2 separate regions of the Homo sapiens genome follow, and region 1 is linked to region 2. The links are contacts of gene promoters, found by promoter capture Hi-C in blood cells and fetal thymus (Javierre and others, 2016). All regions are on one chromosome and are shown on one strand. Each heading gives the region's core, a stretch centred on a gene start or on the middle of the fragment in contact. The rest is flanking DNA. Distances are from core to core; before and after follow the strand shown. Region 1 holds the start of CPAMD8 (C3 and PZP like alpha-2-macroglobulin domain containing 8). Region 2 holds the start of LINC00661 (long intergenic non-protein coding RNA 661).

Region 1 (2,798 bases), core at 241-2,740, 1.0 Mb after region 2:
GAGAGTCATTTGAACCTGGGAGGCGGAGGTTGCAGTAAGCCAAGATCGTGCCATTGCACTCCAGCCTGGGCAACAAGAGTAAAACTCCATCTCAAAACAAAAACAAAAACAAACCCCAAAAACAACAAACAACAAACAAAAACCTCTGTATAAGGCAGGGTCTCTCATTGGAGCCAAGGTCTGTCATGTGGGGCCGCGTCATTCCTTGCAGTGGAAGCTGACCTGCACATCGAAAGCTGTTTACCAGCATTCCTGGCCTGCACCCACTTAATGCCAACACCAAATGCCTCTCCCTATTTGTGACAACCAAAAATACCTCCAGACATTTCCCAGCGGCCTCAGGGAGACAAAAATCCCCCCCAGGGCTGAGAACCACTATTCTAAGGGATGCCAGCTTTGAAAGAAGCATTAGGATGAAAATTTGTAGGGTTCCGATTTCACGAAGCCTAGGAGAGGGAAGTCTGGATGCTCAGAGCGCAGTAGACTGTCTTGCTTTTAAAACTGTGACCAGCAAGGACCAACTACTCACTGCAAATAACGACACCCACCTAGTCTCACTGCTTACCAGTTTTCTGGAAACTCCTAAACAAGGGCTGCTTGAACAAGCCGCCTTCTAAACGCCCAGCTGGACTAAAAGGCTGGTCTTGTGCAGACCAGGGCAGCCCCCCTGAACCCGCAGCCCTGCAGAGCTCACCCGAACTTGCCAGGTTTAGAAATATTCTCTGTGAAGCCAACTTAGCAGTACTCCCCAGCAGTTAGTTAATTCACCTTCTCCCCGCTGTCAACCCACCAGAAGCCTGCAAGCAAACCTCTAGAAAAATGTAGAAGCAAAACAAACACTTCCTCCTCCCTCACCACGCCCACCCACGGGAAAGTGCCCCTTCGCACTCTCCTCCCACTTCTCAGCCAAGACGCTCCTCTTACCTTCATACCTTGGACAACTGGAAATCGCCACCCATGATGACAGCCCGGGTCACACGAAGGGGGCGAGGTGGGGCGGGGGGAGCTGACCTCAGCACCTTTAGCTTTTGGGAGTCCCTGTACCTCCACAGAGCCACTTCGGAAACTTTAGGGCGCCCCCTCCTCAAGACGATTCGGGAACAAGAGGCCAGGTCCAGCCCAGCGCGGAGGCTGTGTGGCCTTGGGCAGGTCGCTGCAACACTCTGAGCCAGTACCCGCGACCCCCACCCCAGAAGGCGACCGACCTCCTCTGTCGCCGGAGGATACTCACGGGGCCTGAGGCTGCGCGGCGCGCACGCCGTCCCGCGCCGACAGCAGCAGGAGCAGGAGCGGGAGCAACGGCCAGAGCAGGGCGCCGCTCATTTTTCGGCTCCTGGGGGGCGCCGCGCCTGGGGAGGGGGCCGGGCCAGGGCTGGGCCAGGGCCAGGGTCCGAGCGCGGCCGTCCTCGCGCCGCCGCCGGGGGCCCTTTGTTCGCAGCCCCCGCGCAGTGCGCCCGGCGCCATGCGCCCCGCTCCGCGCCCGGCCAAGCTGGGGCAGCCCCGGGCCAGCCCCCTCCCCGGACCCGCCTCGTCTCCGGGACCGCCCCGCTCGCCCCGCTCGCCCCGCTCCTGGGCGCACCCTCCCGGGACGCCTGCTCCGCCCATCTCCGGACCCCGACCCGCCCCGATCCCTTCCGGGGATCGTCCCCTCACTTACTCACCGGACCCACCCGGGCCCTGCCCGATTCCTTCCGAACCCGCCTCCTCACCCCCTACCCGGATTCGCCCCCGGATGCCCCCCTCCCCACCAGCCCCGCCTCGGACCCGACCCCCCACCGCCCCCACTCTCCCTCTCCTCTCCACCCAGCGTCCACTCGGAACCTGTCCCTTCCCTGGCCTCTCCCTCCCTCCCTCCCCAGCCAGCCCCTTATGGCCCCCTCCCCGGGCCCGCCCCTCACCAGGGGCCCCTGGGTCTGGACGCCGCCTGCAACCCCGATCCCACAGGCGCCGCCGTGCCCTAAGCCCTGGCCTGTATCTAGTGCCCAGTGCAGTGCGTACAGCCCAAGGAGCAGAGGACCCTTTGGGGAAACAGTCTAGCCAGGGGTCGAACCTCCCAGACTCACATCTGCCCCAGGTCCCTATCTGTGCTCTCTGCTCCCCTCTCCCCCACCCCCACTGTCCACAAATCCCTTGGGCCCGTCCCCTCTCTCGCTGGGCCTCAGAGTCCCCCTTTCCCCTTCATACAGCAGGGGTGGATGGGCACCCCCTTTCTCTCCAAGAGCAGGGTGTCCCCTCCTGCCCCTCCCCGTGTGGCCACCTCAGTGATGGTCCTGCTGTCCTAGGTCCCACTGGCAGGCGGCACATCCTATACCATGTCCAAGTCCTGGACCCCCTCCTTCCAGTGTGGAACCCCCTTCCCCCAGCTACCAACTGCCCTTCTTCTAAAATTCCAGTGCTGACCACACCCCCTCCTGCCCGGAATCCTCGGGGCTCCCTGTTTATTTTACATTTTATTTTTATGTTTTGAGACCAGAGTTTTGCTCTGTTGCCCAGGCAGGAATTTAGTGGTGCAGTCACAGCTCACTGCAGCTTCAGACTCCTGGAGAGTAGCTGGGACTACAGGTGCAAGCCCGCACCCAGCTAATTTTTATATATTTTTTTTTAGAAACGGAGTCGCACTGTGTTGCCCAGGCTGGTCTTGAGCACTGGGCTCAAATGATCCTCCCTCCTCAGCCTCCCAAAGTGCTGGGATTACAGGTGTGAGCCACCACATCCAGCCAGGGCTTCCCGTTTATTGAGACCAAATCTAAACTCTGGCTTTGATGGCAGAGACCTCAGCCTAGTTCCTCCAACACCCT
Region 2 (2,706 bases), core at 59-2,558:
TCTTAGGTAGCCGAAGCAGAGAGAGAGAAGGCAGCATACGTCAGCGTTTTCTTCTATGCACTTACAAGAAAGATCAAAGACTGTAAGACTTTCACTATTCCTTCTACCGCTATCTACTACAAATTTCAAAGAGGAACCAGGAGTACGGGAGGAACATGAAAGTGACCATTGGAGCACAGCACCACAAGGAGGGGTTTAGGCCTCCGGATGACTGCGGCAGGCCTAGATAATATCCAGCCTTCCACAAGAAGCTGGTGGAGCAGTGTTCCCTGACTCCTCCAAGGAAAGGAGACTCCCTTTCGCAGTCTGCTAAGTAACGGGCGCCTTCCCAGACACTGGCGTTACCGCTTGACCAAGGAGCCCTCAAGCTGCCCTTATGCACGCGTTGACAGAGGGCTCACCTCTTGCCTTCTAGGTCACTTCTAACAATGTCCCTTCAGCACCTGACCCTCTACCCGCCAGTTATTCCTAGGTTATGTTAGTAACGCAACAAAGAGTAATATTAAAAGCTAATGATTAATAATGTTTATAATAATGATTGATAATTGTCCATGATCATCTCTATATCTAATTTGTATTATGACTATTCTTATTCTAACTATTTTCTTTATTATACTGAAACAGTTTGTGTCTTCAGTCTCTCACCTCGGCACCTGGGTAATCCTCCGCCCACAGTCAATAGGGGTCTGCAGCTGGGGCAAGGTCAGCGGGGATCTGATCAGTGAGACCTAGTCAGGTCTCACTGACTGACTAGGCCCTGGGGGTTGGGGCCTGGCCAGCAAGAGTCCAGTAGTTGGGGCGTGTTTGGCGAGGGTCTCATGGTTGGGGTCTGGCCAGCGGGGGTCCCACAGTTGGGGCCTGGTGAGCAGAGATCTGGCAGTTGCAGCCTCGTCCATGGGGGTCTGGCAGTTGGGGCCTGGTCAGCGGGGTCTTATAGTTGGGGCCTGTTTGGAGGGGGTCCAGCAGTTGGGGCCTGGTCAGAGGGGATACGGCAGCTGGGGGTTATTTGGCAGGGATGCAGCAGCTGGGACCTGGTAGGTGGGGTCTGGCGGTTGGGGCCTGGTCAGTGAGGATCAGATCAGTGCGGTCTAGGCAGTGAGGTCTGGACGCTGGGCCTTCATCTGCATGGGTCTCGCAGTTGGGACCTGGTCAGCAGGGGTCTACCAGTTGGGGCCTGGTTGGCGGAATCAGGCAGTTGGGACCTGGTTGTCGGGGGTCCAACAGTTGGGGCCTGGTCAAAGGGGATCCAGCAGTTGGAACCTGGTCAGCAGGGCTCTGGCAGTTGGGGCCTGGTCATTGGGGTCTGGCAGTTGGGGCCTGGTCAACAGGGGTCCAGGAGCTGAGGCCTGGTTGGTGGGCCGTCTAGCAGTTGAGGCCTGGTCATCTGGGCCCGGCATTTGGGGCCTGATCGGCGGGGATCAGAGCAGTGAGGCCTAGTCAGTGAGGTGTGGATGTGGGGGCCTGGTAAGCAGGGGCCCAGCAGTTGGGGTCTGGTCAGCAGGGGTCTCATAAGAAGAGGCCTGGTTGGCAAGGGTCTGGCAGTTGGGGCTCAGTCAGGAGGGGTCTAGGAGTTGGGGCCCAGTCAGTGGGGTCTGGCAGTTTGGGCTTGATCAGTGCAGTCCAGCAGTTGTTGGGGCCTGGTCAGTGGGGGTCCAGTAGCTGGGACATGGTCAGTGGAGTCCAGCGTCCGGGGCCTGGTTGGCAGGGGTCTGACAGTTGGCGCCTGGTTGGTGGGGATCCCATAGTTGGGGCCTGTCAGCAGGGATCCAGCATTTGGGGCCCAGTCAGTGGGGTTCAGCTTTTGGGGCCTGGTGAGTGGGGTTCAGCATTTGGGGCCTGGCCAGCAGGGGTCCAGCAGTTGTTAGGGCCTGGTCAGCGGGGGTCTGATTAGTGAGATCTATTTGGTGGGGTCCATCAGTTGGGACCTAGTCAGTGAGGGCCGTGAGGGCCTTGTCAGTTGCAGCCTTGTTATTGTGGCCTTTGTCAGTGGTGTCTGATGAGCCAGGGCCTGGTCTGTGGGGCCCAGTCAGCAGGACCTGGTCAGTCCACATCTGGTCAGTGGGACCTGGTCATTGTGGGGGTGGTCAGCTAGGACCTGTTCAGTGGGAGCTTAACCATTGGAAGCCTGGCCAGTGGGATCCTGGGTGATCTCAGGCCACGGGTTAGTCCTCGAAGCCTCCGTGATTGCCTCCATCCATGGGGTGGGGGGTGAGTCACAGCACCCCAGTGGGCTTCTGGGAGGAGGAGGTGAGAGGGTGCATTGCATTGAATCCAGCCCTGCCACACAGACCTGGCACTTTACACACTACGCGAGTCACCCCAAGGGGGAAGCCTGGCTTCTGCCCTCTGCCCTCTGCCCTCTGCCCTTTGCCCTATGTCCCTGCCCCATCTGCATCCCCAGGACCACCCAGCATGGAAAGAGCAGAGGCTGAGGAGCACCTATGGGTGCTCTGATGCTGGCCACAGGCCCGGGGGTGACAGTGACAGGGATCCAGGTGCACACCTGAGTGGAGCAGCCAGGCCCAGCTGGAGGAGAGACGTGTTCACCCACACACATGCATCCTCACATACACAGACAAATTGCACGCATACATGTTGACCATTAAGCGGGCAGAGGACGCTGACCCTGGGCCCTGCTGAGCCAGGTAGGGCCCCGTCATGACAGAGGCTGTGAACCCATGCTGTCACTGTGCCAAGTGCCGCCAG

The links. The method cuts DNA at HindIII sites, captures the fragments that hold promoters and counts their contacts. A CHiCAGO score of 5 or more calls a contact.
Region 1: the fragment with the promoter of CPAMD8 here is called in contact with the fragment with the promoter of LINC00661 in region 2 in 5 of 17 cell types (total B cells, naive B cells, total CD4 T cells and 2 more); the score reaches 10.0 in total B cells.

The regions. Positions count from the first base shown.
Region 1 is chr19:17,025,320-17,028,117 of GRCh38, forward strand. It overlaps CPAMD8 (C3 and PZP like alpha-2-macroglobulin domain containing 8), which reads right to left and starts at 1,491. Exons shown (of 42, transcript NM_015692.5): 1 at 1,232-1,491. The coding sequence starts at 1,323. RefSeq lists an enhancer at 1,663-2,571. The HindIII fragment of the contact is 6,852 bases long and covers 1-2,798 here.
Region 2 is chr19:16,014,326-16,017,031 of GRCh38, forward strand. LINC00661 (long intergenic non-protein coding RNA 661) reads left to right here and starts at 1,309. Exons shown (of 9, transcript NR_026828.1): 1 at 1,309-1,464. It overlaps LOC105372291 (a long non-coding RNA gene), which reads right to left and starts at 731. Exons shown (of 2, transcript XR_936355.1): 1 at 646-731; 2 at 1-60. The HindIII fragment of the contact is 12,039 bases long and covers 1-2,706 here.